4 separate regions of the Homo sapiens genome follow, and regions 1, 2 and 3 are each linked to region 4. Evidence: promoter capture Hi-C in human tissues and cell types (Jung and others, 2019). All regions are on one chromosome and are shown on one strand. The core of a region is centred on a gene start or on the middle of the fragment in contact, and the rest is flanking DNA. Distances in the headings are between cores, read along the strand shown. Region 1 has its middle 7.0 kb from the start of LINC03085. Region 2 has its middle 210 kb from the start of LINC03085. Region 3 overlaps ZNF254 (zinc finger protein 254). Region 4 holds the start of ZNF91 (zinc finger protein 91).

Region 1 (3,531 bases), core at 21-2,520, 760 kb after region 4:
GGTGACAAAATCTCTCAGCATTTGCTTGTCTGTAAAGTGTTTTATTTCTCCTTCACTTATGAAGCTTAGTTTGGGTGGATATGAAATTCTGGGTTGAAAATTCTTTTCTTTAAGAATGTTGAATATTGGCTCCCACTCTCTTCTGGCTTGTAGAGTTTCTGCTGACAGGTCCGCTGTTAGTCTGATGGGCTTCCCTTTGTGGCTAATCTGACCTTTCTCTCTGGCTGTCCTTAACATTTTTTCCTTCATTTCAATTTTGGTGAATCTGACAATTATGTGTCTTGGAGTTGCTCTTTTTGAGGAGTATCTTTGTGGCGTTCTCTGTATTTCCTGAATCTGAATGTTGGCCTGCCTTACTTGATTGGGGAAGTTCTCCTGGATAATATCCTGCAGAGTGTTTTCCAACTTGGTTCCATTCTCCCCGTCACTTTCAGGTACACCAATCAGACGTAGATTTGGCCTTTTCACATAGTCCCATATTTCTTGGAGGCTTTTTTCATTTCTTTTTATTCTTTTTTCTCTAAACTTCCCTTCTCGCTTCATTTCATTCATTTCATCTTCCATCACTGATACCCTTTCTTCCAGTTGATTGCATTGGTTCCTGAGGCTTCTGCATTCTTCACGTAGTTCTGGAGCCTTGGCTTTCAGCTGCATCAGCTCCTTTAAGCAGTTCTCTGTATTGGTTATTCTAGTTGTACATTCGTCTAAATTTTTTTCAAAGTTTTTAACTTCTTTGCCTTTGGTTTGAATTTCCTCCTGTAGCTGAGAGTAGTTTGATCATCTGAAGCCTTCTTCTCTCAACTCCTGAAAGTCATTCTCTGTCCAGCTTTGTTTCATTGCTGGTGAGGAACTGCGTTCCTTTGGAGGAGGAGAGGCCCTCTGCTTTTTAGAGTTTCCAGTTTTTCTGCTCTGTTTTTTCTGCATCTTTGTGGTTTTATCTTCTTTTGGTCTTTGATGATGGTGTTGTACATATGGGTTTTTGGTGTGTATGTCCTTTCTGCTTGTTAGTTTTCCTTCTAACAGGCAGGACCCTCAGCTGCAGATCTGTTGGAGTTTTCTAGAGGTTCACTCCAGACCCTTTTTGCCTGGGTATCAGCAGCGATGGCTGCAGAACAGCTGATTTTTGTGAACCGCGAATGCTACTGTCTGATCGTTCTTCTGGAAATTTTGTCTCAGAGGAGTACCCGGCTGTGTGAGGTGTCAGTCTGCCCCTACTGGGGGGTGCCTCCCAGTTAGGCTGCTTGGGGTTCAGGGGTCAGGAACCCACTTGAGGAGGCAGTCTGCCTGTTCTCAGATCTCCAGCTGTGTGCTGGGAGAACCACTGCTCTCTTCAAAGCTGTCAGACAGGGATATTTAAGTCTGCAGAAGTTACTGCTGTCTTTTTGTTTGTCTGTGCCCTGCCCCTAGAGGTGGAGTCTACAGAGGCAGGCAGGCCTCCTTGAGCTTTGGTGGGCTCCACCCAGTTGGAGCTTCCCATCTGCTTTGTTTACCTAAGCAAGCCTGGGCAATGGCAGGCGCCCCTCCCCCAGCCTCGCTGCCACCTTGCAGTTTGATCTCAGACTGCTGTGCTAGCAATCAGCGAGGCTCCATGGGCGTAGGACCCTCCGAGCCAGGTGCAGGATATAATCTGCTGGTGTGACATTTTTAAGCCTGTTGGAAAAGCACAGTATTAGAGTGGGAGTGACCCGACTTTCCAGGTGCCATCTGTCACCCCTTTCTTTGACTTGGAAAGGGAAGTCCCTGACCCCTTGTGCTTCCTGAGTGAGGCAATGCCTCACCCTGCTTCAGCTCGCACATGGTGTGCTGAACCCACTGTCCTGCGCCCACTGTCTGGCACTCTCTAGTGAGGTGAACTCAGTACCTCAGATGGAAATGCAGAAATCACCTGTCTTCTGCGTCACTCATGCTGGGAGCTGTAGTCCAGAGCTCTTCCTATTTGGCCTTCTCAGCTGCCCGCCTCAGCTGTGTAAACTTTCAAACCTGATCCAACCAATGTTTGGGCCCTATGTAAACCAGCCACCTGCTCCTGAAGCCAGTGTGTAAAATCCATTGCGCTTCACTGCAGGCTGGAAGTCCCACTGAGAGGCACTGCTCTTTCTCAGAAGAGAAGACTATTCTCCTTTCTCTTTCTTTTGCCTATTAAACCACTGCTCCTAAACCATCTTCTTGTGTGTCCATGCACTGATTTCCTTGGCATTAGATGACGAACCTCGGGTCTTTACCCCACACAGGTGATGCCACTTCAGTATGTTAAAACTCATTAATTTATTAGTTAAAATTGCTTTATTAATAAATATAGCACTTTTTTTTTTTGAGACGGAGTCTCACTCTGTCACCCAGGCTGGAGTGCAGTGACGTGATCTCAGCTTACTGCAACCTCCACCTCCCTGGTTCAAGCGATTCTACTGTCTCGGCCTCCTGAGTAGCTGGGAGTACAGGCGTGTGCCGCCACGTCCGGCTAATGTTTTCTATTTTTAGTAGAGACAGGGTTTCATCGTGTTAGCCAGGATGGTCTTGATCTCCTGACCTTGTAATCCACCTGACTTGACCTCCCAAAGTGCTGGGATTGCAGGCGGGAGACACCACGCATGGCAAAATATAGCACATTTTAAAGACCACTGATGCACAGTGCAAAAACTGCCATATATGAATATGACATCAAATTATACTTCCAGTAACAGTGTTAGGAAAGGTCTTGTTACCCTACACTAACTATTTATGAATAGTTTAATGGAATATGCTGTTTTAAAAAATATTTTCCATTTTGGTATGTGAAAAAATGGCATCTCATTATTTATTTATTTATTTATTTATTTATTTATTTATTTATTTATTTTTGAGATAGAGTCTCGCTCTGTTGGCCAGGCTGGAGTGCAGTGGCATGATCTTGGCTCACTGAAACCTCTGTCTCCCGGGCTCAAGCAATTCTCCTGTCTCAGCATCCCTAGTAGCTGTGATTATAGGTGTGTGCCACCACGCCTGGCCAATTTTTGTATTTCTAGTAGAGACAGGTTTACATCATTTTGGCCAGGGTAGTCTCAAATTCCTGACCTTGGCCTCCCAAAGTACTGGGATTACAGGTATGAGCCACCGCGCTTGGTGACATCTCATTATTTTAATATGAATTTTAGTAACTATTAGGTAACTTGTTTTTATATATGTTTAGTGTACTACTTTTTGAATTGCCTAGTCATGGCTTCTGCTTATTTTGCTATTAAATTATTTAACTTTTTACTGATTTATATAAGCTTTTGCTATCCACATTATAGTAATAAGTTGTCTAAAATTATTTTACATGTATCTTCATTCAGCTCCCAGAGTCCATCTTCAATGCTTTTGATAGAAAAGGAGTTCCTCCCTTCTAAAGATGTCTACTCTTAGTTTAAATATGTACCAATTAGTAATACACAATTAGGGAAGTTTAAACACTGTCTAATTAAATTTGATTTGGGGAAAATAAATGTTCTCACCTTTCCATTTTTATTTAACCATGTGTAAGAAGGCAGCCTATACATTCTGGGGTAAAAAGTC
Region 2 (3,229 bases), core at 145-2,644, 960 kb after region 4:
TTCAGAGAAGAACTAGAAAAAATCTTCCTGAGAAACTGCTTTGTGATGTGTGCATTCATCTTACAGAGTTAAACTCTTCATTTTATTGAGCAGTTTGGGAACAGTGTTTTTGTAGAATCTGAGAAGAGATATTTGGGAGTGCTTTTAGGCCTATGGTGAAAAACGAAATATGTTCAGGTAAAAACTAGAAGGAAGCTTTCCGGGAAACAGCTTTGTGATGTGTGCATTCATCTCACAGAGGTAAACTTTTATTTTGATTGAGCAGTTTGGAAACACTGTTTTTGTAGAATCTGGAAAGCGATATTTTGGAGCGCTTTTAGGCCTATGGTGAAAAAGGAAACATCTTCAGATAAAAACTTGAAAGAAGCTTTCTGAGAAACAGCTTTGTGATGATTGCATTCATCTCACAGGATTAAACCTTTCTTTCATTTGAACAGTTTGGAAACACTGTTTTTATAGAATCTGTGAAGGGATATTTGGGAGCACATTGAGGCCTATGGTGAAAAAGGAAATATCTTCAGATGAAAACTTGAAAGAAGCTTTCTGAGAAACAACTTTGTGATGAGTGCATTCATCTCACAGAACTAAACCTTACTTTTGATTGAGCAATTTGGAAACGTGGTTTTTCTAGAGTCTGCAAAGGAATAGTTGGAACGTGTTGAGGCCTAAGTTGGAAAAGGAGATATCTTCAGATGAAAACTAGAAAGAAGCTTTCTGAGAAACTTCTTTTTGATGTGTACATTCTTCTAACAGAAGTACATCTTTCTATTGAATGAGCAGTTTGGTAACACTGTTTTTTCAGAATCTGTGAAGGTATGTTTAGGAACGCATTGAGGCCTAGGGTAGTAAAGGAAATATCCTCAGAAAAAAATGAGAAAGATTTATGAGAAATAGCATTGTGATGTGTGCATTCATCCCACAGAGTTAAACCTTTCTTTTGATTCAGCAGTTTGGAAACACTTTATGTGTAGAATCTGCAATTGGATCTTTGGGAACCCATTGAGGCATTTGGTGAAAAAGGAAATATCTTGAGATAAATACTAGGAAGAAGCCTTCTCAGAAACTGCCTTGTGATTTGTGCATTCTTCTCACAGATTTAAACGTTTATTTTGATTGAGCAGTCTGGAAACACTGTTTGCGTGCAATCAATGAAGGGATATTTGGGAGTGCATTGAGGCCTATGGTGAAAAAGGAAATATCTTCAGATAAATACTAGAAAGAAACTTTCTCAGAAACCACCTTGCAATGTGAGAATTCTTCTTACAGAGTGAAAGCTTTTTTTTTGATTGAGCACTCTGGTAACACTGTTTTTGTAGAACATGTGAAGGGATATTTGGGAATACATTGAGGCCTATCGTGAAAAAGGAAATATCTTCAGATCAAAACTAGAAAGAAGCTTTCTGAGAAACTGCTTTTGATGAGTGCATTCATCTCACAGAAGTACACCTTTCTTTTGATTGAAGTTTGGCAACAGTATTTTTGTAGAAACTGAGAAGGGATATTTGGTAGCACATTGAGGCCTATGGTGAAAAACGAAACATCTTCAGATATAAACTAGAAAGAAGCTTTCTGAGAAACTGCTTTGTGATGACTGCATTCATCTCACAAGGTTAAACCTTTCTTTTGATTGAGCAGTTTGGAAACAAAGTTTTTGCAGAATCTGTAAAGGGATATTTAGGAGCACATTGAGGCCTATGGTGAAAAAGGAAATAACTTCAGATGAAAACTAGAAAGAAGCTTTATTAGAAACTGGTTTGTGATGTGTGCATCCATGTCACAGAGTTAAAATTTTGTTTTGATTGAGCAGTTTGGAAATAATGTTTCGGTAGAATCTGAGAAGGGATATTTGGGAGCATATTGAGGCATATGTTGAGAGAGGAAATATCTTCAGATAAAATCTAGAAAGAAGCATTCTGAGAAACTGCTTTGTGGTGTGTGCATTCATCTCACAGAGTTAAACTTTTTTTTTTGATTGGGCAGTTTGGAAACACTGTTTTTGTAGAATCTGCAATGCAATATTTTGGAGTGCTTTTAGGGGTATGGTGAAAAAGGAATATCTTCAGATAAAAACTAGAAAGAAACTTTCTGAGAAACAGCTTTGGGATGAGTGCATTCATCTCACAGAGTTAAACCTTTCTTTTGATCAAGCAGTTTGGAAACACTGTTTTTATAGAATCTGCAAAGGGATATTTGGGAATGCATTGAGGCCTGTGGTGAGAAAGGAAATAGCTTCAGATGAAAACTAGAAAGAAGATTTATGAGAAACTGCTTTGTGAAGAGTGCATTCATCTCACAGACTTAAACCTTTTTTTGATTGAGGAGTTTGGAAACGGAGTTTTTGTAGAATCTATGGAGGGATATTTGGGAATGAATTGAGGTCTATGGTGAAAAAGGAAATACCTTCACATATAAACTAGAGAGAAGCTTTCTGAGAAACTGCTTTGTGATGTGTGCATTCATCTCACAGAGGTAAACGTTTCTTTTCATTGAGCAGTTTGGAAACTCTGTTCTTCTAGAATCTGCAAAGGGATATTTATGAGCTTTTTGAGGCCTAAGTTGGGAAAGCAGATATCTTCAGATGAAAACTAGAAAGAAACTTTCTGAGAAACTGCTTTTTGATGTGTGCATTCTTCTAAGAGAATTAAACCTTTGTATTGAATGAGCAGTTTGGCAACACTGTTTTTGCAGAATCTGTGAAGATATATTTAGGAACACATTGAGGGCTATGGTGAAAAAGGAAATATCTTCAGAAAAAAATGAGAAAGATTTCTTAGAAATAGCATTGTGATGTGTGCATTCATTCAACAGAGTTAAATCATTCTTTAATTGAACAGTTTGGAAACACTGTTTTTGTAGAATCTGTGAAGGGATATTTCGGAGCCCATTGAGACCTTTGGTGAAAAAGGAAATATCTTCAAATAAAAGCTAGAAAGAAGCTTTCCAAGAAACTGCTTTTCGATGTGTGCATTCATCTCACAGAGTAAAACCTTTCTTTTGATAGAGCAGTTTGGAAAAACTGTTTTTGTAGAATCTGCAAAGGGATACTTGGGGGAGCATTGGGGTCTATGGTGAAAAAGGAAACATCCTCAGATGTAAACTAGAAAGAAGCTTTCTGAGAAGCTTTTTTGTGATGTGTGCTTTCATCTCACAGAGTTAAACTTTTATTTTGATTGAGCAGTTTGGAAACACAGTTTTTGTTGACTCTGCCAAGGGATATTTAGGAGTACAT
Region 3 (3,245 bases), core at 475-2,974, 710 kb after region 4:
TATGTGAGAGGCTCCAGGTGTAAATAGAATCTGATGGCAGAATCTCTTAAGTGTAAAGAAGCATCTTAGGAGTGAGAGATCAAGGCCACAAAGTAGCCAGAGCTCTGAGCACAAGTATACTTACCTGGAAAATATGATATTAGAGTATTCTTGCACTTCTACATACCAAAAAGCTAGCTAATCAGGACAGGTGATCCAGGTTCTGCAGCTCCACCAGGGTACTTCCATTTTCTATTTAGAATCAGCCTGAGTCTCTCCTGCTGGCTTGCTATTGAACCATCAGTCCAGGGTCACTGGAAATGCTCTCACAATCACCTAGGTGTCTTTGAGACATTTGAGAATCTCCAGAACAGAATTGTGTCAGGCTGACAAGAGTGGGCAATTTTGCTTCTGTCTTAGTGTAAATGAAATGAGTCATCCTGTGATTGTTCCTCCCCTCATGCAAGAGCTGTCTTCGGTTGGTACCCAGATGAGAGTTTCTCCAGTTCCCTGGTACTTGGGTAAAAACAAGGAGGAGGTCTGCAGACTCAAAGAGATAAACTAATTGCTTCTATTTCATATAGTCATTAGAAAAATAGATGACGCAGTCATGGTCCCTACCATGCAGGAACTTTTAGTCTAGACTAGCAACTGGATAAATGATTTAATTATGCATCATATGGTGGGTACAATAAATAGATGTGTGCAAAAATATGGGCTTTATTTGGGCCATTTTCTTTATATTGTGACTTCAGATGTCTATACCTGAACATATATTAATAAACAAAATTTGTTTTTTTTTTTTTTTGCCTTGCTAAGTAAACTTATTTATCTTCTAAATTATTCTAGAAAACCTTAAGGGATTTGTTTAAATTGCTTATTAGTATGTGATATGAAATTAGAGGGCAATGGGGCTAAAAAAGATTAAAATTACACAAACTCTGAGATTTAAGTTTTTTTTTTTTCTTTTAGGTAAGCTTAAAAAAAGAAACATAAAAAAAAAATACTCCCCAGTGGTGTAAAGAACAGAATTTTACATCAACTCTACACCCTGCTTCAGCCCTGTTTAGATTCACCCTTTTTGAAGGCCTTATTTAAGTCTTGCCCTACCCTGGAGTTTTGCCTCACAGAACTAACTAGAAGAGATCAGAGTTTTGGGTGATGAATCCTGTTGCCTTTTTAGAGTTGGTGCTCACACTTTTCTGAAACCCAATAGCAGATAAATGGAAAAATAACATGTATTATAGGGTCTTAATTTAATAATTTTATATTAAAACCAGTGTTTACAGAGACATTCCATTTAGCAACTTGTTTTCTGTTCCTGCAGATATAGTAGTTGATTCACAAGTCACAAAATAGCAAATATAAATACAATAAAAATTCATCTACATTTCATTAAACTCTATCTGTGTCCTTCTCATCTGTCTGTATTTAGATTTTATTCCATGCATTTTAAAAAACTCAATGATAAACAGAAGAGGAAATAAAAATGCTGGGTCTTTATTCTAAATCCTTGGATTTATTGGACACTTAGTATCAACTCACAGGGTATTATTAGAATCAAATAATGTGCTATCACAGTGCTCTGTAACATCCTGTTGATCACATAGTACCTGCTTAATAAACATTGCATTAATACATGTGCACATGTTGTTTTCCAAATGCAGACTTACTCAGAAAATTGCTGCTTTCTGTTTTCTCTGTAAACTTTAAAGAGCCAGAAAATAATATGATACTTTAAGATAGAGAATGGTTGTCTTCATTTGCATCAGAAGTATTTGTGTTTTTACAAAAGTGCTGAGTGTAAGGGGCTCTGTGCTGTACCTCATTTTTCTAACTAATGCTAACAATGAGCCCAGAGAGAGTGACACCAGCATTGACAGAAGACTTGTTTAGAACACCCATTTATGGACCATTTCCAAACCTGCAGAATCGCATTACATAGAGTGGGGCCAATTTTACAAAGCGATTCATAAGCTCATTAAAGCTTGAGTGATAATGCTTAGGTAAGTGGTTATAAGATCAGGCTTCTAATTAGAATCACATGGCCAATATGCAGAACTCTCTTTACTTGTGCCCTTTTCACAGTTTCTGTTCTGGGTGAAAGCGTCTATTTGTTTTAATTAAGTGCCTCATGTGACTCTCAGGTGCCAGCATCAAATATGAGGAGTTCAAGATACATTCATTGAGTTAAGTTCCACTTTTGCACTAAAGAATGTTCTAGGAATCTGTTCTGTTTGAGTTTGGTAAGGATAGGACAGTGTGGCCAATATTTCTTTCCTTTTCTTTTTCTTTCTTTTTTTTTTTGAGATGGAGTCTCGCTCTGTCATCCAGGCTGGAGTCAATGGCACAATCTCGGCTCACTGCAACCTCTGCCTCCCGGGTTCAAGTGATTCTCCTGCCTCAGCCTCCTGAGTAGCTGCGATTACAGGTGCCTGCCACCATTCCCAGCTAAGTTTTGTATGTTAGGTAGAGGTGGGGTTTCACTCTGTTGGCCAGGCTGATCTTGAACTCCTGACTTCAGGTGATCCACCTGCCTTGGCCTCCCAAAGTGTTGGGATCACAGGCGTGAGACACCACACCCAGCCAACTTTTGTATTTTTAGTAGAGATGGGGTTTCACCATGTTGGCCAGGCTGCTGTTGAACTCCAGACTTCGTGATCCACCTGCCTTGGCCTCCCAAAGTGCTGGGATTCGATATTTCTATTACTGTAGCAGAAATTCCTGGTGTTTGTAACAGGGGAGGGCGCCTGGGGACAAAAAGAAGAGAAACTTATATTTTTCTCTCTGTGGAGCAGCTCATTGTTCCTGAATCTTTTTTGTTGTAAAGGACAGAAATGGGTAGAGTTTTTGTGTCTTGAGCCTTCTGACTTTGAGTGTGGTGGTAACAGGTGAACATGTGCTCAAATTTTTAAAGGCATATTGTCAAGATGCAGGTGTAATTAGTCCAGAATATCTCATCTGAGAAAGAATTCTAGAGGAGGAGGAGAGAGAAAAAGTGACTTTTTTTTTCAGCTAAACGTGTCCCAGATCAAGAGCTGTGTCTACTCTGCTTTCTGGAATGCCTTGCATTTAGTACTTGCAAATCTTCACTTCTATACCTGTGTTTTTTCTCCCTAATAAGTTTTTCTTAACTACTTTTAAAAATGCTTATGATAGTCGAGGGTGTCTGAAAAATTTTTCTATATACAAGAATCTTCTCTACATCATGGCTTTTTATATGCCATGTAAGATTCTCACCATGAATTTGTGATCTGCAATATTAA
Region 4 (3,379 bases), core at 172-2,671:
ACAAATAGTTGATAAAGTGAATTAGGGAGGGGAAATTGGCATTTGGGAATGTCAGACGAAACTGGAAATTTAGTATTTTACTGCAAGCCAGAGTTAGGCTGGAGGAACAGGGGATGAGGGGTGGACTTGAGGCCCTGCTTGAGACACATGTAAAAAATTCAGGGAAAAATCGTCCCCTTTTGAGTGTGAGAAAAATTAAGTGGCAGGCAATTAGATTGAGGTGGCTCTAGTCCTCGGATTTCTACTTCTAAAAATAAAAATCTAAACTCAAGAGCATTTTTTGGTAAATTACTACATTGGCAGAAGCAAAATTTAGGCTTAAGCAACTATAAACTGCCAATTAAGCTCTGATTACATAAGAAGGATATTTCCACCTAGATTGTAAAAATTAAGAAACTAGGCCAGGTGCGGTGGTTCACGCCTGTAATTCCAGCACTTTCGGAGGCCAAGGTGGGTGGATCACCTAAGGTCAGGAGTTCCAGACCAGCCTGGCCAACAAGGTGAAACCCCGTCTCTCCGAAAAATAAAAAAATTGGCCTGGTGTGGTGGCAGGCGCCTGTAATCCCAGCTACTAGGGCTGAGGCAGGAGAATCGCTTGAACCCGGAAGGCAGAGGTTGCGGTGAGCCGAGATCACGCCACTGCACTCCAGCCCGCGCGAGAGAGCAAAACTCCTTTTCAAAAAACAAAACAAAACAAAACCTACATAACTGTACCTAGCAAATTACTGAATTTGGTTTTCTTTACCATGAACCTTATAAAAATATCTCCTTCAAGGCCTTTCATAGACCACAAATTACAAACCATAGCTGGGTGCTCTACAATGTTTGAATCACTCTTTGATTAAATTATTTAATCTTTTCGCGGTGACGCCCATAAATTTTTAATAGAAAAAAAGAGGCCCTGGGAACCCCACGGACTAAAGTGCTTCCTATTCATGAGCCAGCACCTCCAGTCAGGATTCTCCCCTGACGACCCTCCCGTGATCCCTGCACAATCTGGGAGAGACGCGGCGCTGCGGGAGCAGAGCTGCCCAGAGAGGGCTCCAGGCCAGGACACAGTCACTGGGCAGGGAAGAGACAGGACGCCCGGAGCCCGCCTGTCAACGCAGCCGCCATCTTATCGCTGAAGGGGACTGAGGCCGAGCTGGGCAAGGAGAACCCGGGCACGGATTGTGGAGCTGACTGAAGGAAGGCCTGAGGCTCGCCACAGCCGCATCCCACCGGTTTCAACGAGCCCCGTTCCCTCTCTCGGGACGTCGCACCTGGCAGTCTCACCATTTCTAGGCTTCCAGGGGTTCCTGGCATCTTAGCTGTGGCTCTCCAATACCTGCAGGTCACAGGGCCACACAGGCTGGGCCTCCTGGAGCAGAGGACACAGAGCAGTGAAGTCGAGACCTGGAAACTCCGGCGGCAGCGAGAGACAAAGGCCCAGCCACATCCCGGAAGCCGCCCTGTCCGCTCCAGCTTTGTGCCTGATTGGACAGTTCCCAGCCCAGCGTCCCTGATTAGATAACGTTTAAGGCCCCGCCTTCTCAGGCCCTGAGTGACAGAAGATGTGATCAGACACTGGGCTGAATGAAGAAAGAGTGACAGCGTAGGCTGCAGCCTTTTCAGGCAGGGCTTCCTCAGCTCAGCCAGGCCCACCTCAGAGCATGGGAAAATCCTCTCTCTTCTTTGCTCTCTTTCAATGTATTCAAAATGTGAACAAAAATATTTGATGTATATTAATAATACATAAAATTTTTGTTCCAGAGAAAATCAACTTTTACTTTATTGTGTATTATCAATAATAAAGCTAATTTGATAAAACATTGTAAGTCTCTCAGCCGGGCGCCGTGGCTCACACCTGTAATCCCAACACTTTGGGAGGCCGAGGCAGGTGGATCTCCTGAGGTCAGGAGTCCGAGACCAGTCTGGCTAACATGGTGAAACCCCATCTCTACTAAAAATACAAAATTATTGAGCATGGTGGTGCGTGCCTGTAATCCCAACTACTCGGGAGGCTGAGGCAGGAGAATTGCTAGAACCCGGGAGGCCAAGGTTGCAGTAAGCCTAGATCGCGCCAATACATTCCAGACTGAACAATAAGAGTGAAATTCCATTTCAAAAAAATGAAAAATAAAATATAAAAATTAGCTGAGCATGGTGGCACACGTCTGTAATCCCAGCTACTCCGGAGGCTGAGGCAGGAGAATCGCCTGAACCCGGGAGGCGGAGGTTGTAGTGAGTTGAGATCATGCCACTGCACCCCAGCAAAAAATAAAAATAAAAATACATTAAAATTTTTTTGACCTCTCTAGATTTTTATACATATTTTATGATCTCTTATAATTTTTTAATTTTTTTTTTTTGAGACTGAGTCTTGCTCTGTGGCCCAGGCTGAAGTCCAGCGGCACGATCTCGGCTCACTGCAACCTCTGCCTTTCAGGTCCAAGGGATTCTCCTCCCTCAGCCTCTGGAGTAGCTGGGATGACAGGTGCACCACCACACCTGACTAATTTTTTGTATTTTTAGTAGAGATGCGGTTTCACCATGTTGGCCAGGCTGGTCTCGAACTCCTGGCCTCAGGTGATCCACCTGCCTTAGCCTCCCAAAGTAGTGGGATTACATGGGTAAGCCATGATGCCGGTCCATTGTTTAACTTTTTATATTTCATTTTAATCTACATTATTTTTACTTTTTCAATTTGAAGGAACCTTTAAGTAATTTCAAAGCAGACAAATGTTTCTAACTTTCTTCATCAAAAGCATATTTTGCTTTTGTTTATACTCTCTCTATTTTCTTTTAATTTCCAAGAGAGAAGCTTGTTCTGTCACCCAGGCTGAAGTGCAGTGGCATGATTTCAGCTCACTGCAACCTCCACCTCCCAGATTCAAGCGATTCTCCAGCCTCAGCTTCTGGAGTAGCTGGGATTACAGGCGTGCGCGATCATGCCCGGTTTATTTCCTTATTTGAAGTAGTGACTGGAATTTGCCATGTTGCTCAGGCTGGTCTCGATCTCCTAAGCTCAAAATGATCTGCCTATCTCGGCCTCCTAAAGTGTTGGGATTACAAGGCGTGAGCCACAACACCTGGCCTTAAACATTCTCTTTGAAGAATTAGTTTTTTTACATCTAGTGGTCTTTTATTAATTACATTAACCCTTAACAAACTAATTTTTAGTGAAATCCCTAGGAAGTAATTTTGAACTGTTTTATATTAATATTTGTAGATAAAAAACATTTATATATTTTAATGTTAAATACAGTGAGTTCTAAATTGCTCTTCAAAGAATCAGTATGTCAGTATATTCAGCTCCCTGTTCTTCATTCTCCATTTTAAAGTTTAACTTCTTTGTTGTTTTTGTCTCCAGTTTTAGTAAACAACCTTCCCGCCAGTT

What was found. Contacts are between HindIII fragments. The study calls those that stand out against the background at their distance.
Region 1: a contact is called between a fragment that was not itself captured here and the fragment with the promoter of ZNF91 in region 4, in 2 of the 25 tissues and cell types used here (adrenal gland and spleen).
Region 2: a contact is called between a fragment that was not itself captured here and the fragment with the promoter of ZNF91 in region 4, in 2 of the 25 tissues and cell types used here (aorta and mesenchymal stem cells).
Region 3: a contact is called between a fragment that was not itself captured here and the fragment with the promoter of ZNF91 in region 4, in 3 of the 25 tissues and cell types used here (aorta, dorsolateral prefrontal cortex and thymus).

What each region holds. Positions count from the first base shown.
Region 1 is chr19:24,151,746-24,155,276 of GRCh38, forward strand. No RefSeq gene overlaps it. Among named protein-coding and RNA genes, the nearest start is that of LINC03085, 7.0 kb to the left of the region's middle. The HindIII fragment of the contact is 4,330 bases long and covers 1-3,435 here.
Region 2 is chr19:24,352,011-24,355,239 of GRCh38, forward strand. No RefSeq gene overlaps it. Among named protein-coding and RNA genes, the nearest start is that of LINC03085, 210 kb to the left of the region's middle. The HindIII fragment of the contact is 3,256 bases long and covers 1-3,022 here.
Region 3 is chr19:24,101,458-24,104,702 of GRCh38, forward strand. All of the region lies in intron 1 of ZNF254 (zinc finger protein 254), which reads left to right. Among named protein-coding and RNA genes, the nearest start is that of ZNF254, 16 kb to the left of the region's middle. The HindIII fragment of the contact is 3,167 bases long and covers 142-3,245 here.
Region 4 is chr19:23,394,050-23,397,428 of GRCh38, forward strand. ZNF91 (zinc finger protein 91) reads right to left here and starts at 1,422. Exons shown (of 4, transcript NM_003430.4): 1 at 1,276-1,422. The coding sequence starts at 1,305. RefSeq lists an enhancer at 824-1,692. The HindIII fragment of the contact is 10,945 bases long and covers 1-3,379 here.